5 separate regions of the Homo sapiens genome follow, and all the other regions are linked to region 1. The links are contacts of gene promoters, found by promoter capture Hi-C in blood cells and fetal thymus (Javierre and others, 2016). All regions are on one chromosome and are shown on one strand. The core of a region is centred on a gene start or on the middle of the fragment in contact, and the rest is flanking DNA. Distances in the headings are between cores, read along the strand shown. Region 1 holds the start of ZBTB14 (zinc finger and BTB domain containing 14). Region 2 holds the start of MPPE1 (metallophosphoesterase 1). Region 3 holds the start of CHMP1B (charged multivesicular body protein 1B). Region 4 holds the start of NAPG (NSF attachment protein gamma). Region 5 holds the start of THOC1 (THO complex subunit 1).

Region 1 (5,233 bases), core at 1,063-3,562:
ATTGATACAAAACCAGGATGTCAGGAACCGTCACTTGAGAAATGCATTCTAGTGCTTTAGAACTCTTGTGAATTATGTTATCGGGTTAGTGGAAACGTGGGAAGTCTTTTCCTAGCCATATGCGAAAAGATTGTCTTTACACAGTAGGCAGACCAAAAATACACGCAGAATGAGTGGGAAACCCCATATGTGGTATGGGAGAAGGGGGAGCGCCAGCAGCAGATGCGCCATGACTTGAGTACTGGCCGTGTCCACACATTGTGCTAACTGCAGTGGCTGCTTTACTGCTTGGTGACGCAACCCTATGACAGAGTACTATTATTATCCCCCTATAAACACACAGCATCCACAGGATTGAAATGCAACTTCAAGAGCTACGCAAACAAGAATAAAGCGAGTACACGGTATCATGTCTGATGAGTGTGAACTTTCGTGGCAGAAGACTTGGTTCTGGTTCTGTCCAGGCCACTGGAACCCACTATCTGTGGGTGCAGGTGATTTTCCATCATGGAGCTAATACCTTAGCTGGGCATTATTTCACTTAATCCTTACAAGTGCCTTATTAGGTGCTTTCCATAGCTCTCCTTCAGCTGAGGTTTAGAGAAGTTAAACAATTTACCCAATATGTGAACTGGATATGTCTGACTCTACAACCGGTCTCTTCCATCCTATTTCCTCCATATAAGCCGTAACTTGGGTGCTTTTGTGAACATCAAAAAAGATGCGTATAAAGTCGCCTTGGGGAACGTTAAACCAAAGTCAATTAACATTACAAAATCAACTGAGGCCATATAGAACTTCCTTTAGAAAATTAACACATCCAATCATCATATTATTTCCCAAATGTTTACTTAGGTGCCTGTTGCAAGCACTATCTTATGTCATCTTCAATAAGCCCAAGAGGAAGCTTCTGCTCTAATCTTTAGATATTAAATTACGCGTTTCGGGGAAACTTCGCGTGTGAGGTAAAGCAACATGAGCGACTCTAAGGCGGCGCGGCATTGCTGTCCGGCCTCCTGCATCTCGGTGAGCAGAAAACGCGGGAGCGGGAGGGACTTCCCAGCTCCCGACGCCAGACACAGGCACAGCCGCCGCGTCAGAGGGAAGGCGACGTGGTTCAACAGCAACGGAGCCATTACTGGCGCTGAGCAGGGATGTTAAGGACAGAGCCAAGTTATCAGAGCTCTCCGAATCGAGTCCAGGGTCTGGACTGCCACAGACGGGTCGCCGCCTCCAGCCCCTGGACTTTTCCTTGGAGTGTCCGGGCGCGGACCTACTAGCTCCGAAGCCCTATGGGTGATCCCTTTCTGCTGGGCAACTGGGGTTGCGCTTTACACTACAAATCGAAGACGTCGCTTTTTCCATTTGTTCTGCAAGTGTTTATTGTGCACCGTCCACTCCCCCACAAACTCAATGTGCCGGCGGCAAGAGGCAAGACCGCAGACCCGTGGGCGCGCCTCCCGGTGTCGGCCGGTGTGCGCGGAGGGCGAAAGTGGCCGGGGCGCCCGCTCCGAGACGCGGCAGAGCCCCGCAGCCTCAGCGCCCGGCCTGCGCGCGCCCGGGGGAGGCTCTGGCCCACGCACATGCACACGCACGGGAGCGCTGGCTCCCGCGTCCCCGGCGCTGCGCCGGCGCCGGGCGCGGGCGGAAGCCCACGAACCAGGGCGGGAGGGAGCTTGAGGCGGGGCGGGTGTCCGCGAGCAGCGCTCGTGCTTAAGTTCCCTGGCTCCCGAAGCCCCGCCCTTGCCCCGCCCACTCCTTCTCCCGCGCGCGGGCTCCGCGCGCCCCAAGCCGCGCGCGTGCGCGCGCGTGCGCAGGCCAGGGCCCTCCGGGGGCGGCCCCGTAGTCTCCAACGAAAGCGTCGGCAAGGGCCCGGATTAACCCTTTCTTTGCTCGCCCACTTAGAGACCCGGTCGGGTTCCGTGCCTGCGCAAGCCGGCGGCGCGCCTTCCCCCCAGCCCGCACCGCGCATGCACGGGAAGGGGGGGGCGGTGGGGGTGTTCACGGCCGGCTAGACATTCTGTGCTCGTGCAGGAGGAGGGCTGCTACCATCAGGGACGTGCACGATTTCCCCCACCCCGCCCCCTCCCCAAACTCCAAAAAAAAATCCAAAACACACTGCCACCCACCGTGCCCCCGCGCCCCGAGCCCCTCCGGTCCCGGCCTGCGTTTGCTAGCGAGCGCGGGGAACCCACGGCAGTGTCTGTGCCTGTGCCAGGCTGCAGGTAAGCGCGGGCCAGGGTGCGGAAGGGGCTGGGGCCGTCCGCAAGGCGGGCGCGGGGGCGGCCGGCGGCTGGCGGGGCGGCCCGGAAGACGCGCGTTCTCGCCGAGCTCTGGGGCACCAGCCAGCTCCAGGATGTGCGGCGGCCGCCAGCGGCGCGGCGCGGTGCGAGCGGGGACGGGCGTGGGCCAGGGTTGGGCGTGGGGCCGGGGCGCCCCGGGGGCCGCGCGGGCCGGCGAGCGGGCTCGGGGAGCGGCCAGGCGGCGGCGGCCCCGCGCGCGCGCTCGCAGAGCCTCGGCGGCCGAGTTCATGGCCGCCCCCGCTCGCACCGCCGCAGTGCACCGCGGTGGGGGTGGGGACGGCCCGAACCCAGCGCGGAGCGCGGCCCGCCGGGCGCCGCCCCTCCGAGCCGCGGGCCCCGCCGCGCCGCCTACAGCCGCCGGCGGAGGAGGGGGCCGGGACCCAGCGCACGCACTCCCGGGTGCGCCCGCGGAGCTTGGGTTAGCCGGCCGCGCGCCGCCCCCGCCCCCGGCCGCGGGAGGGCGGGGGAGGGCCCGGCGCGAGCTGGCCGGGGAGTGCGCGGGGCGCGAGCTCCGGGCTCGCGGGCGGAGCGGGGCGCGGCGCGGCGCGGGGCTGCGGAGCCGGCCGCACGCCCGCTCCCGCTCGTCGCGCCGCCGGGGCCGCCGCGGGCCGCAGTCCCTCCCTGCGCGCTCCGAGCCGCGGTCCCAAGCCTGCGCTCGACGTCTGATTATGAAAGGGAAAGTGGCCCTTTCACCACCTGGCTCCCAGGCTGGGAGCTTTTGTCTGGGAAGGAGTGCAAACGGCCTCCTCCACTCCCCACCTCCCAGGCCCAAAGAAATTGAGAGGGAGGACTCGATACGCCTTGAGGGCTTCTTGGGTCTGCGCTTGGCTCCCTGCTTCCTCCCGACTCCGAAGTTGCAAGCTTGCAACAAGGAAGTCGTGCAGCCGCCATTGTCGGGCTGCCCGGGGCAGGGGAGGCGGCTGCAGCTGCTTATGTAAGTTTTTGGCTTTGCGGGAAGCCCGGCTCCCTGCACTGTAACGCGGCTTAGCGCGCCCGCAGTTTGGAGAGCAATTAGGAAGGGGCAGCCTTATTATGAAGGTGGTGTTGGGGCTACGTCTTTTCCTACACCTGCCTACACAGATGCTGGCAACAGCTGTCTTCCAGTTTTGACTCACCTGAACTGAGCAATTGGACATCTCAATGGCAAGGGGGGCGGGGCGGGGAGGAGGCGGCTTTGGACACACATGGTCTCTCTTCCAGGTCTCATACATCTTGAGAGAGAGAGGGGAGAGGGGCGAGTGGCCAAGTACACACTAGCCAAAACAACAACAACACATTGATATGTTGTCATAGCTAGTCTAAGGCCACTCCTCTCTCTGGTCCCATGCACTTTTATCCCACAAGCCCTAGGACGAGTTAGTGACAACAGTAGTAAGTGTCACAGTGTAAGGTTTTTGCTGGGCTGCCTAGCCTCTGGATGATTACAGGCCTGGGTGCTTCTAGGGAATAGAGAGGCAGAAACACGTAGAATGATCAAGTCAGAATCATCTTTTGGAAATGTTGCCTAACCTCAAACTTCAGATGAGACATCCCGCTTCTACGCTGGGTAGCTCGGTGTGTTCACTTTTCTTTAGAAGGAGCTTATTATGGGTTTCAAGGTGTTGGTCTCCAGGTTGGAGTCTTGTTCCATGGTTTTTGTGTAAGACTGTTACAGCCCAGTCCTTTGCTCCTACCACACCAAACAACTTATCTGTGTGGTCACTGTTCAGTAGAGGAAACTTTTTGTTTTTCAGGATATGGGTCTGCAGGATGGAGTTCTTCCGGTAAGAGTTAAAACTCACAAAAAAGCTGAAATTCTTTCACCCTTATTGTAGGGATAGAGGTAAAAACACCTGGATTTATCAAATACAATCTTAAAAACAAACGTGTATGCTATTAATACATCACACAGGTGCAGAAAGAAAAAGCAATCATTGTTCCCTCTCCTCCCATGTTACCTGTTGGGTTTATGTACTTCTATAGCTTTATTTGTAAGGTATATACTTCTATAGGTTTGTATGAGCCGAGAGAAAAATGTAGAGGGCTAACATACCCAGCGGGAAATGGGATAGGTGTAGGGGGCACGGTGCACTTGTTTTTTTCTATATCTGTGTAGCCATCAATCTCTGTACAAATATGGACATGAGCTTAGTGTGTGAGGAGAAATCCCTTAATGGTTCTCCAACCCCTCCTTCCAGTTCCTAGGGCACAGCCCCTTTATGCCCGAGTGCTACAGCCCTTATCTGTTCTAGTCCATATCTGTTCAGAACTGCACTTGATGTACCAGCTACCTACCTGCCACTCTCCCCAACCTGAAAATGCACAAAAGAGGGAACAAGAAAGTTTATTTTTAAAAAATCAATTCTTGGTTTAGGATTTGGGATACAGGAAGATCCTACCTCATTCTTGTTTATCCTTTCCTCTGTAGGTCTGGCGTGCTCCTGATCAGAGTTACTCTGATCTGAAGATTTTGGCGTTCAAGGCATTAAGATAATAGCCTGAGTTGTTCATGGTAACTATAACTTTGGATATTAAATCTTGATGAAAATGACTTGGCATTTGCTTTAAAATATATATACCAATTCTGATTGTGCATGAACACTTCTATTTGTCTGGGGGAAAATATTAGCCGAATAAAAGTAAAACAATGTTTTTAAAAAGGAAACATAGAGAATGCTTTAAGATGACCAGTTTTTTAACATGATGACAGAGATCTTTCATGCCAGTTCCAAATTTTTGCTTATAAAATACTCTCAGCACTTATCAAGTACTTACATCTGGTGTTGATGGCACTTTTATCTGGATGCAGGTAGATTGGCATCTAGAGAGAACAAAGCCACTTCCCAAATGTCATCTCATTCTCTTAAGGTCAGATTAAACCTTGACCTTCATTTAGAAGTGGCCCAAAAGTGCTGTGGAAAATCTAGAACACAACACTCAATGGGATATTT
Region 2 (5,233 bases), core at 2,277-4,776, 6.6 Mb before region 1:
AGTCTGGGTGACAAAGTAAGACTCTGTCTCAAAAATAAATAAATAAATAAAGTCAGGAATAGGTCATGCCATGCTTTATTATATCCGTGATGCTTTATTATATCTGTGACTTTGAAAATTAACATTATTTTACTAACCATACTCAACAATGCTTTTTAAAAAGGGATTTATGACATATAATTCTTTTGGAAATTAAAATGCATGGTATAATTCTATGGTTGGTCAGATTACACTTCAGGTGTAAATGAATTACCTTAAAAATGTATTTCTTAGGTTTATGTTTTATGGACTTAATAAATATTTTATTACAATTTTTTTTTTTTTTAGACAGAATCTCACTCCGTCACCCAGGCTGGAGTGCAGTGGCACGATCTCGGCTCACTGCAACCTCCACCTCCTGGGTTCAAGTGATTCTCCTGCCTCAGCCTCCCGAGTAGCCGGGAATACAGACGCATGCCACCGCTCCTGGCTAATTTCTGTATTTTTAGTAGAGCCGTGGTTTCACCATATTGGCCAGGCTGATCTCGAACTCCTGACATTGTGATCTGCCCTCCTTGGCCTCCCAAAGTGCTGGGATTACAGGCGTAAGCCACCGCACCCAGCAGAAAAAAATCTTAAACTTACAAAAACATAGAGAGAAATATAGCAAATGCTTGTATTAGTTTTCTATGGCTGCTGTAACAAATTACTACCACTTTGGTGACCTAAAACAACCCAAATTTACTACCGTACAAGTCCTGTAGGTCAGGAGCCCACACGGGGCTCACTGGGCTAAAACTCAGGTGATGGCAGGACACCTGAGCATCTGCAGGATCATTCATTCCTTGCCTTTTCCACCTTGAGAGGCCACCTGTGGCATTCCTGGGCTTGTGGCCCCTTCCTCCATCTCCGGAGTCAGCACCAGCGGCCACATCCTTGTCAGGTTGAATCTCTCTGAACTTCCTTCCAGTGTTACGTCTCTTTCCAATTCTCATTTGCAGGTAAAGGTTCTCGGAAGGACCCAATGAGACTGGGCTCACTGGGATAATCCAGGATCATCTCCCATCTCAAGGTTCTTCATCGCATACTTGCAAAGCCCCTTTTGCCATGTCAGGTAACTTGTTCACAGGTTTGAAGATTAGAATGTGGGCATGTTTGGGGGGCATAATTAGGCCTAGCACAATGCCCATGTACCCATCTCCTTGCTTAAACATTAAACACTTTGCCAATATTGTTTCTCCTATCTCTCACTTTGTTCTCTAAAAAACTCCAGGAATTTGTTATTAAATTTTATTAAAGCAAATCCCAGAAATAATATAATTTGCCTGTAAATATGTTAATATGTTTCTCTGAGGCCTTTAAAAATCATAGCCACTATGGTATTATCGTAATAAAATTACCTGAAGTTATTTAATGTCACCTAACATTCAGTCCATGTTTAAGTTTCCCAATTTTTTTTTTTTTTTTTGAGATGGAGTCTCACTCTGTCGCCCAGGCTGGAGTGCAGTGGCGTGATCTGGGCTCACTGCAAGCTCTGCCTCCCGGGTTCACACCATTCTCCTGCCTCAACCTCCCGAGTAGCTGGGACTACAGGCACCTGCCACTACACCCGGCTAATTTTTTTTTTTTTTTTTTTTTTTTTAGTAGAGACGGGGTTTCACCGTGTTAGCCAGGATGGTCTTGATCTCCTGACCTCCTGATCTGCCCGCCTCGGCCTCCCAAAGTGCTGGCATTACAGGCAAGAACCACCGCGCCTGGCCGCCAATGTTTTTAAAAATGCCATTTATTTATGTAAAAGTTTGTTTGTCTTAATCATGACCCAAACAAGGTCCACAAATTGCATTTGGCTAATGTGTCTCTCAAGGTCCCCCCACCCTCTTTTTTTTAAAGACATGGGGGGTCTAGCTGTGTTGCCCAGCCTGGAGTGCAGTGGCTATTCACAGCTGTGATCATAGCTCACTACAGCCTTGAACTCTGGCCTTAAGCAATCCTCCCACTTCAGCCTCTGAACATTTATTTTTGAAAAAAGAAATTGGGTCATTTGGTTTGTAGAATTTCCCACATTCTGGATTTGGCAGATTACTTCCTGGTGGTGTAATCTAATGGGTTCATTTGGCCCCTGTATTTCCTTTAGCCTGTGATTAGTGTTATAAGCTTAACTGGTTCTAGTTTCCCTTTCTTTGTTAGTCAGAGAGAATACTTTAGAGGTGAGGCTGCAAACAATCCACGGTGCCATATTAGTGTGTTTATGGAATCAGGCTGTCCCAGTTTCGATTATGTCAAAGTTGTTCACCTGATCATATCTGAAGATATTACAATATTCTTAATAATAATAACCATTTACCGCATACTTATTGTATACCAGGCATTTTGCTGGCTGTGTCCTATATAATTCCTCAAACCACATCTCCGTGTATTAACCACACTCATAGATTTGTGAAAATGTACCAGAATTGACTGGTTGGAAGGCTCTATGTGGATTATTACTCTGAGCATGTTTACTTCTTGAAATATGAAATAATGGCTCCTGCTTTTAATATACAGGCTTATTTTGAGGATTTTTTGAACGGATGTGAGAGCACTTAGAAAACTGGAACGCGCCGCGCTACACCATTAAAATTAGTAACATCAGTGAGAAAAAAGCAAGTGCATAATAAATATTATAGTTATCCTGATTGTCTCCTTTATTCATCACACACTTCCTAAGCACATCTCTGGAGGGCACTTTCCAAGGCTCCGGGGGAGGAGAGGAAAGAGGCGCAGCCAGGCCTGGTGGGTCCCGGAGGGGCAGCGCGGCGCGGGAGGGGAACGGGGAGGCACGGCCTGGCTGCCACCGCGCGCGGAACCCGGGAGCGGCTCCGGGGCTGTCAGCTGCCCGCCTGGCTCCTCCAAGGCCTGGAGCTCGGACGCGGGCTCTGGGGGCTTCTGGGGCGCGGAAGCGGGCTCGCGGGGAGCAGTGGCCGCCCCCGGCCGCCGCGGTGGCTGTGCTCAGAAGCCGGCCCTGGCGTCAGGAGGCCGGGCGCGCGGCGCGGGGCGCGAGTTCCCCTGCCCGCCTGTGCGCCCCGCAACGGGCCTTTCCTGGGCCCTAACGACAGCTCGCCCGTGCTTCGCCCTCGCAGCTCTCCTGTGTCCCCAAAATGCCTTTCCCGCGTCCCCCGCCCTTCAGCGGTGACTGCCCAGGGGACTCTGTAACGCGACACTCAGACTGCCGAGCCTGCCAGGCACTTCGCGGAGGGCGCTAGGGGCCGGGACGCGGCCGCCGAGCGTAGGTTCCGGCCTTTACTCCGAGTTGCGCACGGAGCCCCAGCTGCGGTTGTCCGCTCTGGGGATCACAGGCCGCGGAGACCCGGGAGCCACCCGCCGGGCCCCTTCAGACGACCCGCTTCCGCAAACCGGCCGTGGGACTCCGGCGCCGGGCGGACGAAGCGGCTCCGGGAAGACTCGGTCTTCCCCGCCCGCCTGAGGTCGCCGGGGCGGGGCTTCAGTGACAGGCCCGCGCGCTACCGCGGAAACAGGAAGTTGGCTGGGTGCGCGCCGGCTCCGGCTGCAGTTCCCGGGTCCCTCGGCCACCGAAGCCACCCTGCCCTGGTGAAAGGGCTCCCGCACCGCCCGGTGCTCCCCATCTGCCTGGCGTTGTGCGCAGAGCTGGAAAGCATGGCTGTTGTATGTATTCTTGCGCCCGTGTGACAACATTTAAACTTCTAAAAACGGAACCTCCTTCCGTGTTAGGATTGCAAGTTAACCTAGGAAAAACAGCATTCTGCAAATTATTTGCTGGAAAATCTCGGTGACTTAAGGCCCATGTATTACTTTGCAGGGGTCTCTCACTCTAGTTTGCTGGTGTAGATTTTTTAAAAAATCCATCTTATCAAAAAATACCGTTTAAGGTGGAAAATTTCAAATGCAAGTCGCAGTTGATGAGATTGCAATTAATATATTTAAGATAGTGAATTAGAGAAAAACTACAGGTCAGTGCATATTAAGTATTTTTTTCATATTTTGGGGGGATTAGATTTTTAACGATAACTTTGAAGTTAAAAATTAAAAGATAGGCTGGGTGCCGTTGCTTAGGCCTGTAATTCCAGCACTCTGGGACGCTGAAGTGGGAGGATGGCTTGATCCCAGAGATGCGAGACCAGCCTGGGCAACATAGCAAGTCCCCCGCCCCCACCATAACAACAAAAGTACCAAAAAAAAAAAAAAAAAAAGCCAGGTGTAGTGGCACGCACCTGAAGTCCCTGCTACTCGAGAAGTTGTGGGGGAAAGGATCGCTTCAGCGCAGGAGTTTGGGGCTGCAGCGAGCTGTGACGCAGCCTGCGGTTGACAAAAAGTCAAAACTCTATAAAATATTTGAAGGGATTAATTCTGAGCCAAATATGAGTGACCATGGCTGGTGACACAGCCATTTGGAGACCCTGAGAACGCGTACGCAAGGTGGTCGGGGCCCAGTGTGGTTTTATGCATTTTAGGGGAGCCATGAGTCATCAGTCAAATACATGTAAGATTAAGATGTACATTGGTTCGGTCCATAAAGGTATGACAGCTGAGGAGGTGGGTGGGTCGGGGGTTTCCGGGTTATAGGTAGATTGAAAATTTTCTGATTGGCATTTGGTTGAAAGATTTATTATCAATGGAAAGGAATGTTTGGGTTACAATAAGAGGCTGTGGAGACTGAAGTTTTATCATGCAGATGAAGCCTCCAGGTAAGTTAAGTGTCCAGCATGTTAAATGCTGGTCTGCTTTTCCTGAATTCTAAAAGGGAGGAGGATGAAATGTGTCAAGTTCCACCCCCACTTCCCATCATGGCCTAAACAAGTTTTGCTTAAAACAACCTAAAACAAGGTTAACTCTGGAATGCCCTTGGTGGGGTCCATGCAGATGGTTGAGGGGTCTTAGGATTTCATTTTTGATTTACAATGGGCGGTGGAGTGAGACCCTATCTCTAAAAATAAATAAATAAATAAATACAAATTGAAAAGTTCAAAGATAAATTTTTTTTTTTTTTTTTTGAGACGGAGTTTCGCTCTTGTTGCCCAGGCTGGAGTGCAATGGCGCGATCTCGGCTCACTACAACCTCCGCCTCCCGCATTCAAGCGATTCTCCTGCCTCAGCCTCCCGAGTAGCTGGGATTACAGGCATGTGCCACTACCCTGGCTGATTTTGTATTTTTAGTAGAGACGGGGTTTCTCCATGTTGGTCAGGCTGGTCTTGAACTCCCGACCTCAGGTGATCACCCACCTCGGCCTCTCAAAGT
Region 3 (5,233 bases), core at 1,992-4,491, 6.6 Mb before region 1:
GTGCAGCACCACGCCCAGCTAATTTCATATTTTTAGTAGAGGCGGGGTTTCTCCATGTTGGTCAGGCTAGTCTCAAACTCCTGACCTCAGGTGATCTGCCCACCTCAGCCTCCCAAAGTGCTGGGATTACAGGCGTGAGCCACTGTGCCCCGCAATTCTTTTTTCTTAAGTGTTTTTTAAAACAGGATGCACACTCACATCCAATAACATGCAGTTTAAAATGATTTAATTGACAAATTCTTGTGATTTACATTTCAGTAATCAACTGCAAAAGTGAGGAAGTAATTCATGGGCCTGTAGTGCTTTTGAAAATAATATTTATGACTCATAAAAATGTACATTCATAATAGTATGACATGGACATATTTTAAGAAAGTTCAAGCATATACAAGCATTGTTTAATCTCACAAAATATATTAATTTTGTTGGGAATATGTGCATTATAAAAGGGTCTTTAGTTTACCAAAGGGTTCAACACTAAGCTATTTTTAAAGTTGTAATTATTTTTTCCAATCTAAAGAGGGGTTAAGGCCAGGTGCAGTGGCTCATGCCTGTAATCCCAGCACTTTGGGAGGCTGAGGTGGGCGGATCACCTGAGGTCAGGAGTTCAAGACCAGCCTGGCCAACATAGTGAAACCCTGTCTCTACTAAAAATACAAAAAAACTAGCTGGGCATGGTGGTGCACACCTGTAATTCCAGCTACTCGGCAGGCTGAGGCAGGAGAATCACTTGAACCCGGGAGGTGGAGGTTGCAGTGAGCAGAGATCGCGCCACAGCACTCCAGCCTGGGCAACAGAGCGAGACTCTGTCTCAAAAATAAAATAAAAGAGGGGTTAAGACTCATGCTGTCTTCACACATGGCCCTGCACAACCATGTGGAGGACAGGAGGGATATTCTTGAGAGATGCTGGGCAGACAACTAACAAGTGTCCCTTAAAGCACACTTCTGAACAATGTCCAGTCAAATATAAAATAACTTAAATATGAGGGTCACTCCTCATCTGCACGCACCTGTTACACTTTTTTTTTCCTTACTCATTTACACTGGGAAACATGTTATAATAGTGAATAGTTGGTTATGAATCTTTCAAAGAACTTGGAAGGGCCCCTATAATTATTTTCTGAAACAATGGAATTCTCTTATGGAAAAATCTTCCAGTGAAGGAAAGGGTAAGTTAAAAAAAACTTGAATTAACTTAGGTTAGCATGCTTGCCAAGGCAAAAGCAAGTTGCTTTTCTCCATGTTTCGAGGCTATGAGAAAGCGGTGGATACATGCTTTACTTTTCAGCCAGAAAATACGCACTGCCATTCCTGAGAAGATGGCAGGCAGCACAGCTGGGCTCTAGCCTTAAAGACTCAAGCTTTCTCCTTCCTTCCAGTCCTACCTCTTTACTTCTCAGATTTCCAGCTGGCTGGATGTATACATAAATGACTTGCATGGCTAAGTAAAACATTCCAGCTTATATTTTCAAGGATTTCCAAGAGTTCTTGCTTTTGGACAAATTAATAAATGCAAATTAGAACTTAAAACGCAGTTCTAATTTTATTTCTATTTTTGGTTGTTAAAATCAAAACAAAACCTACACACACACAGTCCTAGGGTTTTCTCAAACGAAATCAACAGTTCTTTGGCAATGTTAAGAGTGTGTAACATGACTGCCATGCTAATTAGCATAATTTATAAGACTTCTAATAGTGTTGAAACAGGAAAATAACTATAAACTTGTTAGAGAAGTTCGTTTGAAAGACACTGTCAAATGTCACACTAAGTCTTTTTAAAAACTCAATTTAGTAAGTAGAAAATATAAATGAACAAATTTAATTTTTCCAGATAATAAAGGAAGTTATTCGGCATTTTTCCCAGTTACGCAAAGACAATTATCACGTGAAAAATTTATAGAATGTAAGCAGTAAGAGAGTATTATGCAAAAATATCCTAAGGTAATTTCAGTATAAATTATAGGACCACATTTATTAATAATATACGTTATGAGAACAATCATTTGCAGTCTCACTGTGAAGGCAAAAAAAAAAAAAACAAAAACCAAAACCCAAAGGATAAACAGAAATAGCACAGTCCACCGAATACACTGCATGGTGTTTATAACTGTATAACCAAACTAAGTAATCTTTCCCCTCTCTTTAACTTTTATGCACCACCTGCCATTCTAGATACTATCAATCACACTAAATAATAATAAAAACCAACCACCTTCAATCTGATCATTCTGGGCAGGAAACTGAATACAGTTTTGACCAGATCTTCGAGAAAGATTCATATACACGAAATTAACTAGTTCTGTTAAAAGGCTGCTATAAAAATACCATCATTACGAGCTATACAGAACTTTAGAATCCAGCTAAGAGTGCAGAAATACTGAATTTCTTAATTTATGTGGAGGGGGCTGTAAACCCAAAGGTAGAAGGGCATTTCAGCATTCTGGCGTGTTCAGAGTTTCTAGGGTATAGTATCTCTCTAACACACAGAGAGCATTTCAAAGGGTGGCTATGGCCAGGAAACCTCAGAGCGGGTTCTGCCGTCACACTTGATCCCGAAGGCGGGCCAGTCTCTGAGACAGTTCATCCTGCTCCGCCGAAGCCACGCTCGTGCCCACGGAGCCGGTCTGGCCCTGCGGCAGCTCCATGTTGAGGTCGAGGCCCGCCTCATCTGCCATTTCCTGGAGCAGCATATCCACTTGGTTCTGGGGAGTGGTGAGCGTCGTCGTGCTGCTCATCGTGTCTTCCATTTGCTGCGTCTGGACGTCCAGAGTCTCAAACTGGTGCTCGAATTTGTCCATCAAAGCAGAAATCTTCTCCAGATTCATGGTCTTCAATGTCGCATCCATCGACTTAACCACACCAGCCATCGACTTGGTCACCTTGCCCATCGTCACCGCCGTCTGGACCCTGGCAGCCACTGCATCGACTCGCGCACTCATTCTCAAGAAATTCACCGCCTGGTTCTTCTGGCGGATGGCATTTTCGGCGTGTATCCTCGCAACTTCCATGTTGCCCTTCTGAATGGCCTTTTTAATTTTGGCCTTTTCGGCCTTTTCCTCCTTATCGCATTTTTTGGCACTCCTACTCAGTTCTTTGGCCGCGAACTTCAGGTTGAACAGGTGTTTCTCCATGTTAGACATAGTCGGACGGCTCCTTTGGGTCGGCGGCCCGGCTGAGAAGCGCGCCGAAGGCAGAGAAGGTAAGGTAAGTCCGCTCCCGGCCGCCGCTCCTTTGTTTTGGTCCCACTTCCTGTTTCTACTGTGAGCGGCGCAGGTGGTGACGTCAGAGCCCAGCGCCAAAGGCGGAGCCTGCGGGACGGAAGGCGCCGGGGTGGGGCCTGTGGGACGTAAGACGCCAGGGGCTGCGCATGCAGGGGGATTCTGGCTGGACGCTCCGGCGCTGCGGCGGGGAACGCTCGCTTCCTGCGCTGCGTTCTACCCGGTTTTTAAAATTCTAACGCATTAGTCAATTCACAAAAATTAGTGCCCCCACGCACTTTCCTAGTAATAAATCTACCGAAGTAGACAGGATCTGTGGAGACCCGCGTGTAAAATTACCCACGCTCCAAACTTGGCAGGCTTTATAAAGGGTGACTGGCTAGCGGGCTAAAAACCAGCCAAACATCAGCTAGGTCTTCGCACTAACGCTTGCTTTATTAGCATGGGTAATTTCCACTTTCTCAGGGGAACTGGAAACCATGGATACATTAAAAACAAAAACATTAAAACACATTAAAAACAAACGGGTCATTGACGCGTCTCCATCTTTGACTACAATTTGTGCTAGAGTTCTGTAATATCCTTTTATTGCATTGAGTGAAAATAATCTTCAAAACTGTGGCACCACCAAATTTATACTTTGTCTGGAAGTTCAGCTTCTAGGTGAGTTGCCAGCAATTATCCAAAAATCGTCCCGTGGTTTAGTAATAAAAAGACCCATCTTTTGCTGACACCATTCTGTCTTTTTGATGTTTTATAAATATCCAAGGAACTTCACTCACATTTAAGTTTGACAGGCTAAACTGTCATTTTAAATTATGCAGGCAGAGTATGTTGAGATATCAGGACCCACACCCACGGGCATACATCAAAACTGTCACTATGTATTACGCCCTTTAAAAATGCTGGCTTTCAAATGGCAGCAATGTGTGCTGTCACTTTTCTCTTTAGAAAGATTCCTCCGATACAGCAATAACAATGTGAGAAGACCAAATCTGCCCTAATGAGGTAGGCTGAAAATGAACTCTGAGAGCGAATTCTGTTTAGAGATCATTTTAATCTAGCAGCCTGCCACCTCGCTTAGCTTCCTGTGATAGCTTGCCAGTCAGTTTCACAACACAAGACCTTCTGAAGACATAGCTCTGATGTTTTCACTCTCTTGCTCCAAACCCCGGGCATGGAGGCTAAACCTGCTGTGCAGCATGCTGGCTCGTCTTTCGCGCCCCTCCACCTCCGCCAGTCAAAGCAAACCGCAGCATGGAATTTGAGCATTATTTGCGTCATTCGGCCAGCGGGGAGAATGTGACTGACGCCCGGTCCTGTGGCTATGCTGTTCCTGTTGCCTGGATTTTAGTGTCCATGCATCTCTGCCTATTGACACCCTGCCAGTCCTTCAAAAGCCACCTTCACCATGGAGCCTCCCCAGGACTCCTCCTCTGTGTGGCCATACTACAGGGCACATTGCCTGGCAAGGGGTCTGTGTGTATAGGTCACCTGTTACAGTGTGAACTACTTGGATGCAGACACTGATTCCTTCCCCTCTCCATGGAGCCCAGCAGGCGCTCTGCACACAGCAGCCACTGAATCCAGATGGCGTTGCTGAATTTAATTGTATTTCAGAGGGGATAGGATGTTACCCTAGTTAGCAGCTTAGCTATGGTTCCTTTTTGCCCCGCAAAGCAGTAGAACCCTTTTTCCAAATGAAACTTTTCTAGAAATGGAATATAAACAACCAAAAAAAAGGGGAAGAAATCTGTTCAAAGTGGATATAGAGAGCTTAGGCCCCCTACTCTGCTCACCCTCCATTCCACTCTTCCCTTCTTTTAGGTCCTGGTTTTTCTTGGAGTTTGCAAACAAGTTTCTTATCCAGCTTCCATGTCATGCTCCATAGTTTTCTTTTTTCTTTTCTTTCTTTTTTTTTTTTTTTTTTTTGAGATGAAATCTTGCTTTGTCACTCAGGCTGGAGTGCAGTAGTGTGATCTTGGCTCACTGCAGCCTCCCCCTTCTGGGTTC
Region 4 (5,233 bases), core at 1,084-3,583, 5.2 Mb before region 1:
GAATTCTAAGCTCTTGAAGAAGGGACCACTTTTGGTTACTCCAGTATCCTCTGTGGCTGGTACAGGTACACAGAGACAACTTTGTAAATGTTCGTTTACTGAATATGTCAAAGTCCATTCTCCACACTGCTGCCACATTTCTTTTTCTTTTCCTTTTTATTTATTTATTTTTTTGATACAGAGTCTTGCTCTGTCTCCCAGGCTGGAATGCAGTGGCGCGATCTCCGCTCACTGCAACCTCCGCCTCTAGGGCTCAAGGGATTCTCCTGCCTCAGCCTCCTGAGCAATTGGGATTACAGGTGCGCGCCACCACAGCCGGCTAATTTTTGTATTTTTAGTAGAGACAGGGTTTCACCATGTTGGCCAGGCTGGTCTCGAACTCCTGACCTCAAGTGATCCACCCGCCTCAGCCTCCCAAAGTGCTGGGATTACAGGCATGAGCGACAGGGCCCAGCCTGCTGCCACATTTCTTTCACCAAAAGCAAATCTAACCGAGTCCACTGGTTGGATGCCTACAATAGCCATGTGAGAAGCTGTCCCTTCACAGTCTGGCCCCAACTCTTTTTCACTCCAGCTCGTCCCCTGGCACTGTGACTACACTACATTCACTGTTCCCAGAGCACATTTTCAGGCCCGCGTATAATACATACTACAGGTTGCGCACAGAATCTCTTTCACAAGATTTTCCCTCCGTCTAAAACATTCCGTATTTTTCAAGCTCTGCTCACAAATCATCTCCTCCTCAAATTTTCTCAGGCAGAATAAACTTCTCCCTCTGGGTTACCTATGCACAGTTAATACAGCTTTTTTGTGGTCCCTATTCCACACACTATTCTTATTACAAATTTTGCGTTTGCTCCCACTAGAAAGCAGAATGTTGTGGGAACCTCCTGCACCAGGAGAGCCCCAGCACCTTACACGCTGACTGCCTCGAGTCATGTGATAGAGCTTGAGTTTTTCCACTGTTTGAAAACTGGCTCTGCGATCTTTCACCTGTGCAGTTGGGGGCAAGTCGTTATGAGGCTTCCCTGAGTCTCATTTCCTCTTACGAAAAATTAGAATCTCTATTTGGAAAGTTATTGTGAAGATCTCAGCTTATGAAATTATGTATGTGAAGCACCCACCACAGAGCACAATGCTGACTTTTTCTTTTCTTTTTTTTTTTTTTTTTTGAGACGGAGTCTCGCTCTGTGGCCCAGGCTGGAGTGCAGTGGCGCGATCTCGGCTCACTGCAAGCTCTGCCTTCCGGGTTCAGGCCATTCTCCTGCCTCAGGCTCCCGAGTAGCTGGGACTACAGGCGCCCGCCACCACGCCCGGCTAATTTTTTGTATTTTTAGTAGAGACGGTTTTCACCGTGTTAGCCAGGATGGTCTGGATCTTCTGACCTTGTGATCCGCCCGCCTCGGCCTCCCAAAGTGCTGGGATTGCAGACGTGAGCCACCGCGCCCGGCCCACAATGCTGACTTTCTATTAACTGTAACTGCCAGATAAAAATGCACTGGAGTAATGAAACGGGGGGAAGAGGCTGCCAAAAGGATGAATTAAGGATTATCAGTTCAGTCCCACAAACATTTGCAGGGTGCCTACTACGTACTGTACCAGAGGTGGCAGGACATACACATCAAAGGACGAACGAAGCACAGTCCCTGCCCACAGGGACAGTAAAATGCCAGATGACAAAGGTTCACCGAGGAGTTTTTGGGGTAAACCTATGGTCCCCTCCACACAGGGGGCTCTTCTAGGGCGGTGGTTCTCAACAGAGCGATGTTGTTCCCCAGATGACATTTTGGGTTGCCACAAATGGGGAAGAGATGCGACCGGCACCCAGCAGGTAGAGGCCAAGGATGCTGCTAACGAGCCTCCGATGCACAGACAGCCCCCACCACAATCTTCAGGAGCAGAGCGCCCAAGTAGAGAAGCCCTCGCCCCGCAGCACTGCGCCGAGTCCCCGCCCACACCGGCTCTGGGGAGCGGACTTCCGGCGGGGTGGACCCACGGCGCTTCCCGAGGCGCCGCAGAGCTGACCCCGACCCCGGGAGTGTGACCCAGAGGACACCGAGCCCCGGCAGCCCTGCGGGCACCAGCGCGCCGAGGCCCCTCAGCCCTGAGCCCTCCCTCCCGCCCCCCCCGGGTGCTAAGGCCGCGCCAGTGAGAGACGGACCCGGCGTCTACACACAGGCCCCCGGAAGGTTCTCACTCACTATTTCTCTGCTTTGGCGAGGTGTTCCAGCCCCTCGTTTATCTTCTGAGCCGCCATCTCCACAGTCAGGTCTCTGACGTGGAGAGAGGGTGACCCTGCCTCTTCCTCCGGCGCCAAGAATCCGCCCAAATAGGCGTGGGAACGCCGAGGAGGAAGCTGGTGCAGCGCGACAGTCGAGCGGCTACGGAGGGCCGGAGGGCCCAAGCCGCTGCGACGAAGCGGGGCTGGGAGCCTGCCGGTGCGCCCCGCAAAGAGACATTGCGCAGGCGCAGCGCGTCAAGGCTGGCCCCACCTAGGGCATCTAGCGCAGGCGCGGTGAGATACTGATGGGGCGTATTCTTTCATTCAATATTTGCAAAGCACCTAATATGTGTCAGGCACTATTTTAGATGCGGGAAGATCAGCAGACAAAAACTCCCGCCCTCTTGAAGTCTTGCTTTTTCATTAATGTGAAACTGCTGTGGATCCTGTTTGTAGGGTTAATTGGCTTTATAATTTATTACATCTGAAGTTTCTCTGTATGACAGATAGAATAGTATTCTTCTATCCATTCTGCCTTTTGGGTATTAATTGTATGTCAGTCAAGAAACGAAACAGACTTGTAAACCCTGATTACTGTCAAATAATCCGCGCCCAACCCAAATAATCGCTCTAATATTTCAAGCCGTGATAAGTGCTCTAAATGGGAAGTTGAGGGATCTAAAGTCGCGTACAGTGGTCTGGTAAAAATAGTAACCAGTAATACAGTTGGCTTCATTCATAATTCATGGTGATTTCAATATCCACATGGATGATTCCTGCAATGACTATACAGCCTCTCAGCTTCCAACCTCCTGTGATCTTTCCCACACTAGCGCAGCCACACATTCCTGGGATCACACCCTTGACCTTACTCATAACTGTGTACCCTCCGTAGTGTCAGTTTCAAACAGCTCACTTTACTTCCCCTTTCCATTCCAGCTCATACCTCCTAGTGCTAGTAATTACTTAACCTTCACCAGATTCCTCACCTTTCCCTATCCCTCTGCTCTTACACGTCCTTCTTTTCCCAGCATAAATTCATGTCCCATCATTTTAGTGCGTATACTCTCAACGGCCTTGGCTCCCTCTCCCTCCTTTCTCCAAGCCAGGAAAAACCCCAGCTCTCCACCTACTCTGGAACTGCTCTTGAGCAAGTGAATTTGACTGGAAAAAAACAAACGAGGATGCTAACATTACTCATTTTAATGATCATAAACATTAAGCCGACCTTTGGTGCTGCTGAGCAACTCTCCTATGTTTCCATGGTCAAATCACTCACCCACTCACTTGGAGGGCTGTTCACACCTTCCTTCTCAAAACTCCTACACAATCTCTGCTTGCCTGCCAACTCTCACTTATTGTTGAATATGAAATAACTATTCGAAGAGTTCTTCCCTTTGGCCTCACCACACAATCGATCGATCTTCCTGCATCTATTTGCCAATCAATATTTTGCATTTTTTCTAGTGCCAACAGGTGAACTGGCCTTGGATTTTTTTCTCTATCCTCACTTTCTTATTTAGTACCCACACACAAGACCCCTCTTCATTTGGTTGTCTAGCCTGGGCTTCCTTTATAGGAAGGCAGCAGAATTTCAAGAGAGTGAAAGTGGAAACTTCAGGCTTCGTAAGGCCTGGACTCCCACTGCACATTACTTCTGCCACATTTTATTGATGAAAACATGTCATAAGGCAAGTTCAGATTCAAGAGGTAGGAAAATAGAGGAGTGTAAAATACTTTGGCCATGACTTCCAATTCACCACAACTCTGGGATGACTGATTAAATATAAAAGGACTGTTACCAGTGGAAAGCCTTATGTTTTCAAGTGAGTTTAGATTTATTAACCACCCAATACCATCACCCTCTAAAACCATTGAAAGTGCCCAGAAAGTTTTCTAAGCCTATAACCTCCTCCACATTCTCCCTTATTTATTCATTCATTATTGAATTATTGTTTACTGAATGCCCACTCTGCACAAGACATTAAGCCTACACACCTAGGACCCAATTGTTGAGCAAGAGATATAATGCCTGCCCTCATTGCATTCATGATCTATGAGAGGATACAATATTTAACTTAATTTTACTTTGGCATCAACAAAGAAAGAATGGGAAAAAAACCCCACGATAGTGATATAGCAGTTATTAAGAAATACTTTTTAGGCAGATAGTAAGGGTAAATGTTCTCAGTGGAAATTTTCCTGTTTTAAGAAACAACCCCTGAACCATCTCTTTTCTAACAGAAAAGGCAGCTTGAAGAGCCAGGCCCGCAAGCTTTGATATGCAAATGTCAGTCCTTAGAAACTGAGTTCACTCAACATGGTGATTCCGCCATCTCTTCCTTGTCATCAGGTGTACCAAGTGTCATGGCCACCTCCAGATAACACCATGTGTTCAGAACATCACGGTGACCTGTATTTGCATATTAAAGGGCTAAGGTGGGAGGGCCAGGTTTTTCGAGAGCTATGTAAATGACACACCTGGTCAAACCAATCCCCTGGGCCCTATGCAAACCAGACACCACCTCCTCCAGGATCCCAATATAAGCAACCACTTTTCCACTGCACACTGGGTTTTCTCTTTGTTCAAATCCTCCCTACCTCTGTCTCTGTATGGGGGAGGTGTTTTCTTCTTCCTTCCTTCTTTCTTGCCTATTAAACTTTTCACTCCTTAAAACCACTCCACGTGTCCGTGTTGTTAATCCTATCAGCACGAGACCAACAACCCTGGTGTTCCTCCATTCGTTGGAGCTATATCAATAGCCATGGGCATTCAAGGGTTCTATGTTTCAAAGGACCCTTGACCAGGGAAGCCGTGGTAAGTATGTGCTAACATGCATTCATAGTAAAGGGGAGAAGAAGAGAGAGAATGGGCACAGTAAAGGTGTAACACAAATGCCCCCACTTTCTTCCCCTCCCCTTCTCTTCCTGCAATAACATTGAGGTGGGAGTTGAGCAAGGGGAATTTAAACTGAGAAGTCAGCTTAGAAGAACTGAGAATGGAAAGCATGG
Region 5 (5,233 bases), core at 1,941-4,440, 5.0 Mb after region 1:
AAGGCAGGCAAGGGACGAAATGGAGGGAGACAAGGTTTTCGCTAGGGAAGCCTCGGCCCAGGACGCAGCGCCACCCGTTTTCCAATCAGCGCCGGGCACTGCATTCCTCCTAGGTCTCTTTCTTTCAGTAGAGACCTTTTAATAATAAATACTACTTACATTGCTTTACAGTTCACACTTGCGGTCATTATTTCAGTGGAGCTTTTCAACAGCTCTGTGAGACAGGTATTATTTCTATTTCGGAGCAGAGAGAACAGCGCCCTTGAGCCACAGGGCTCATACATCCGGAGCCTATCACCACTCCGCATCTTAAGCTCCCGGGATGACCGCGGACTGGCGGCCCAGGACCACTGCTCCAGCTGTTTCCCCAGGTAATCCACCTGCCTTGGGTTACCTTTTAGCGCGGCCCAGTTAGCCGCAACCAGCCACCATTTACCCGCTTTCCCCAAACCAGGAAAACCACAGAAACGCATGTGCGCGGCCAGTCTCTTCCACGCCCGGGAACGCAGAGCTTACAGACCAAGGCCGCCCAAGTCCCCTCACCCCAAAGGCTACCCAAGAACCCCGAGTAGGCTGTTTGGCTGACTCAGGCGCCCAACGCCCACCCGAACTGAGTCGCTAGGGAAACTCCCAACTGCCAGCTCGCCCGACCGGTGTTCACAGGCCACTCTAGCCGGGCTCAGAGAGACCGCAGTCTCGTTGCTCCTGGCTTGACGTCATCGGCAGGCGCCGCAGCGCAGTGGCGGGCACGCGCAGCCGAGAAGATGTCTCCGACGCCGCCGCTCTTCAGTTTGCCCGAAGCGCGGACGCGGTTTACGGTGAGCTGTAGAGGGGAGGGTGCAGGCCTGACCCGGCGCTATGCTTTGTCCTCTTCTCCCTGAAATTACTCGAATTTTGCCCTGGGGTAAAGTGAGACAGAGGTGTGTCCGCCTCAGCGTCCGCTCCGGGCCCCGTCGGAGGTTGAGGGGTAGGGAAAGACGCACTACCCGCCTCTTCTTTGTGGGCTGGGCCGTCCGCCTCCGCCCACCCTCCAGCGGGTCCCCGGACTGCGTGCTGGGCGCCTCGGCTCCCCGCTTGGAGTGCCCACCTGCAGACTACTGCTGGTTGGGTCCATCCTCTCAGCTCGTTTAGTGGGGCAGGTGTCTCGAGAAGGGGAAGGGGAGCTGCTGAAGGGGGAGGGTGGGAGTGGTTTCAGTCCAAAGACCTGGCTCCCGCCCTAGCCTTCTGAGCTACCAAGTGCTTGTTCCCGCCGTCTCTTCACCACCCCTTAACCCACCGTGTCTAACTCCTAAGCGATCGATGAGATCCTAAGCGGGAAAAGGCAGATAGATCACCTTGGGAAGGGTAACCAGATGCTATTTTATTCTTGCTCAATGTGGAAGGGTGGTTTTGAGCATTTGGGAAACACTTGACAGATCACTTTCTCATTTAACTATTAGAGTAACACTGTGAAGTAGGCTAAGTTGGTTATTCCTGGTACATGAGGTAGAAGCTGACACCCCCCAAAAAGTTGTGACTTCAGTGGTTTTTCTGACTTTAGACACTCTGTTCTTTTTATGTTGCTCGTCACAGCAACGTAAGTATGAAGAACACTTTTAAGTTGCCTGACTCTATTCGTCTCTAGCATTTGCACCAACATTTCTCAGATATTCGGCTGTGTTTTGGTAGTTATAGGGATGCCAGGATGAAAATTGTGTGAAAGAAAAATTCATCCTTTGTAGTAAGTAGTTTTCTTGTTTGCAGGGTTATATATATATATATATACATATATATACGTATACGTATAATATATATATACACACACACACAGTGTGAGGTTTTTTTTAAATGGATTATATTTTGTGTATGTCATCATAATCATTTTCTTTGTGTGCGTTTTGCTGCAATCTCTGGTGCTTTGAAAGCCTGCTAAGAGTAACTGTTAGGACTATCCAAGATCATATTGGCGGCCGGGCGCAGTGGCTCACGCCTGTAAATGCAGTACTTCGGGAGGCCGAGGCGGGCGGATCACCTGAGGTCAAGAGTTCAAGGCCAGCCTGGCCAACATGGCAAAGCCCCGTCTCTACTAAAAATACGAAAATTAGCCAGGCGTGGTGGTGGGCGCTGTAATCCCATCTACTTGGGAGGCTGAGGCAGGAGAATCGCTTGAACCCGGACAGCGGAGGTTGCAGTGAGCCAAGATCATGCCAGTGCACAACACCTGGGCAACAGAGGGAGACTCCATCTCAAAAAAAAAAAAAAAAATCATACTAGCCCTGAAAAGGACCATGAAATTGGAGATCATCTAGTTCAGTGTTTCTCAAGCTTCTTGTGAAATGCAGATTCTTGTTCAGTAAGTGTGGAAGGGAGCCTGAGATTTTGCATTTCTACCAGCTTCCTAGGTGATGCCACTGTAGCTGCTGCTGGTAGTAAAAATCTACAAAAACCCTCTTATTTAACTGGTGACGAAAATGAAGCACAAAGAGATAAAGGAACAGGCCCCAAATTACTCAGCCTGTTAGTGGCAGAGCAAGGAATGGACACATTTAGGATAGATCTAATTCCTGTGAGGTAATAAGATGACTTTCTAAGTGTATGTGAGTGTTCATAGAATGAATGCCTTTTGCAATATTTTTGTCTTTAAGTTATGATTACTTTAAAACAATCTACAGATTGTCAGCATGGTTTTATTGAGTGCTACGTGTCAGGGACTGAACAAGATACCTCCAGGAGGCGAGACCTGACATGGGTGTGGGAGAATGGATAGAATTTGGATGAGCAGGTAGGAAGAGCAACATGAATGTGTGAATACAGTAGAATGAGTTTGATATAAAGTGATGAAAAATGGCTAGACTTTAGTGCAAAGTATGTGTTAGGGAGTATTGGGAATTAAGTTTGGGTAAATTGGGATAACATTATCAAGGACCTTGAGGGATCTATGAAGCTTCAAAACTAAAACGGGCAAATAAGGAGCCATATGGAGATTTTTTTTTTTTGTAAGCACAATACTCATGAATGTGATATTTAAAGAGACAGAAATATCACCTAGAATGAAAAAGTCCAGCAAGGAAGCTCTTGCCAGATTTAAAGTGATGAGGATCCGTATCATGAAGTAGCATTGGAATAAGGATTACTGAGAGAATGACTGATAGGTAATTTTTCCCAGGTATAAGCATTTTTTAGTTAGTAAGATACACTATCAATGAACGATATATTTTTCAGCAAATAATAAGCAAAATCTTTACAATTATTTGCCATTTTAATTTTTTTTTAGAAGTCTACCAGAGAGGCCTTGAACAACAAAAACATCAAGCCATTGTTAAGTACCTTCAGCCAGGTACCTGGCAGGTAAGGCATTGATATCTATGAAAAATACTTGCCTCAATCTTTATACATACCCTGAGCTGTTTGAAAAATGAGGATGTCTTTTGTTTTTAATAGTGAAAATGAAAAAAAATGTACCCTTGACCAAGCTTTCAGAGGTATTCTAGAAGAAGAAATTGTAAGTATGTTTTTCCATTGTTAAAATTTTACTGACAAATTAATAAACCATGTTATTTAAAAATTGCTTTTTTTCTTAGAATGGATATTTAAACATCTTTTTTTAGAGTAACCTTTCTGCTTTGTAAAAGTTGACTTGATGACTATACGATTTCTCTAAGGATTTTGATAGCACAGGTACATTTTAAGGGTTTGGTTTAATAAATGACAAGAGCCCTCTCCAAGTGAGATAAGAAAAGTTGACATGAGGTCTTAGGAAGAACTAGAGGTGAAGGTGGGCTCTCTCACTTTCCTGTATAAGCAGTGATACATCCTGTAGTGGCGCAAAAGGTCTAGTCCAAGAATATTTAGCTTAGGAGCTGGGATTCCATTCCCTCATTTTCCTCTGGCATCCTCCTCATCAGTAAACTTACATAAATAACTGAGGGCTCTCCAACTTCGGTAGAGAAGTCTAACCATGAAAAATCTGAATTTGTTTACCAATAATGGGGCACCTGAATGAAAGGAAAAGTTTCAACAGTTTATTCTTGGTCAAGCAAAGGTTGGGTCCCCAAAAGCTAGATTCCCTTCTATTGGCCATAGTACAATGTCCCTTTCTCTCAGACAAGTCTGATTAAAAAATGATTCTTTCCTTTTCTTCAGACTTAGTCACTTTTCCATTGTGAGGCATTGGGCAAGTTCTTTTCCTTTTCTGTGCTTCAGTTTCTTTTGTGAGAGGGGAAATACCGTTCTTTCAGTGTTGTTGTGTGTAAAACAGCACTTAATGAACACTCAGTAAATGCTGGTTATTATGATTTTATAGAACCTAAGCACTGTCTTCCTTCTATTAAAACCACCCCTCAGACACATGGGTGTATTAGTAGTTAATTCTCATAGCCCTGCCTTTGCCCTGTGCCACTGGCTGAGTTATGGCTTCAGCACTTCTGTCCTTGATTAGCTTATAGCCTTCATCTTGCTAATATAACCATTTTCTTGAGACCATTGGATTTTGAGTGAGTTGCCTGTTACTTGACATACTTCTACGACTATTGATTCTATATGTTACTGTTAAATTTTGGTAACTTCATATTAGAAAATATTGTTTTCTATAAGAAATATTGTATTCCATATTTCTGATAGTCAATTTAATATCAGAGTACATGTTTTTACTGTTAATCGAGTTTAGTCTGAACTCTTGCCCCTAAATTAAATTGTTTCTCCTCTGTTGGTAGATAAATCATTCATCATGTGAAAACGTTTTAGCTATTATTTCTCTTGCTATTGGGGGAGTAACTGAAGGTAAGTATGGTTCCGTTTTGTTTTGTTTAAAGTAATCTTGGACATGACATGCTTTATTTAAAACGTCTTCTCCCCATACTTCTCCACCTATCTGATTTTGTTTATTCTTCAAGTTCTGCCTGACTCCCAACTTTGCCAAGAAGTCCCAGTTGAATTAGTTCACTCTTATTTCTCATCTCTATTATGCAGTGCACATTTTGGCACTTCCTTTGTTCTCCAGTTGTTTTGTTCATTCAGTAAATTTTCATTGAGCATCTACTATGTGCCTGGTACTGAGCTAGGACCTGGAGATTCAATGGTGAATAAAACATATTCCCCTGCTTATGTGGAGCTAATGGAAGAAACAGATGTATGCATGCCTTACTATGGTGTAAGTACTATGGTCGAAGTGGGAATGAAGTGTAGTTAGAGGGAATAGAGCCAACATGGCTCTCTAAACTTCAGTCTAAAGGAGTCAGGAGAGGTTTTAGAAAAG

The links. The method cuts DNA at HindIII sites, captures the fragments that hold promoters and counts their contacts. A CHiCAGO score of 5 or more calls a contact.
Region 2: the fragment with the promoter of MPPE1 here is called in contact with the fragment with the promoter of ZBTB14 in region 1 in 5 of 17 cell types (non-activated CD4 T cells, total CD4 T cells, total CD8 T cells and 2 more); the score reaches 15.1 in non-activated CD4 T cells.
Region 3: the fragment with the promoter of CHMP1B here is called in contact with the fragment with the promoter of ZBTB14 in region 1 in 1 of 17 cell types (naive CD8 T cells); the score reaches 7.5 in naive CD8 T cells.
Region 4: a contact is called between the fragment with the promoter of NAPG here and the fragment with the promoter of ZBTB14 in region 1, in 2 of 17 cell types (total CD4 T cells and non-activated CD4 T cells). The highest score is 5.8, in total CD4 T cells.
Region 5: a contact is called between a fragment that was not itself captured here and the fragment with the promoter of ZBTB14 in region 1, in 1 of 17 cell types (fetal thymus). The highest score is 7.4, in fetal thymus.

The regions. Positions count from the first base shown.
Region 1 is chr18:5,292,805-5,298,037 of GRCh38, reverse strand. It overlaps ZBTB14 (zinc finger and BTB domain containing 14), which reads left to right and starts at 2,312. Exons shown (of 4, transcript NM_001243702.2): 1 at 2,312-2,386; 2 at 4,037-4,066; 3 at 4,711-4,794. The coding sequence starts at 4,792. RefSeq lists enhancers at 1,104-1,263, 981-1,666, 2,355-3,041, 3,042-3,729 and silencers at 1,474-1,893, 1,974-2,913. The HindIII fragment of the contact is 2,257 bases long and covers 910-3,166 here.
Region 2 is chr18:11,906,610-11,911,842 of GRCh38, reverse strand. MPPE1 (metallophosphoesterase 1) reads left to right here and starts at 3,526. Exons shown (of 11, transcript NM_023075.6): 1 at 3,526-3,642. LOC101927511 (a long non-coding RNA gene) reads left to right here. Exons shown (of 4, transcript XR_007066296.1): 4 at 981-1,294. RefSeq lists a silencer at 2,734-3,133. The HindIII fragment of the contact is 5,797 bases long and covers 2,136-5,233 here.
Region 3 is chr18:11,849,421-11,854,653 of GRCh38, reverse strand. It overlaps CHMP1B (charged multivesicular body protein 1B), which reads right to left and starts at 3,241. Exons shown (of 1, transcript NM_020412.5): 1 at 210-3,241. The coding sequence starts at 3,142. The coding sequence ends at 2,543. All of the region lies in intron 5 of GNAL (G protein subunit alpha L), which reads right to left. RefSeq lists a silencer at 2,530-2,824 and enhancers at 2,831-2,880, 3,149-3,388. The HindIII fragment of the contact is 8,099 bases long and covers 1,366-5,233 here.
Region 4 is chr18:10,523,127-10,528,359 of GRCh38, reverse strand. NAPG (NSF attachment protein gamma) reads right to left here and starts at 2,333. Exons shown (of 12, transcript NM_003826.3): 1 at 2,202-2,333. The coding sequence starts at 2,257. RefSeq lists a silencer at 1,941-2,190. The HindIII fragment of the contact is 5,497 bases long and covers 1-4,498 here.
Region 5 is chr18:263,551-268,783 of GRCh38, reverse strand. THOC1 (THO complex subunit 1) reads left to right here and starts at 737. Exons shown (of 21, transcript NM_005131.3): 1 at 737-818; 2 at 3,254-3,327; 3 at 3,421-3,481; 4 at 4,692-4,758. The coding sequence starts at 765. RefSeq lists a silencer at 1-8 and an enhancer at 399-868. The HindIII fragment of the contact is 529 bases long and covers 2,926-3,454 here.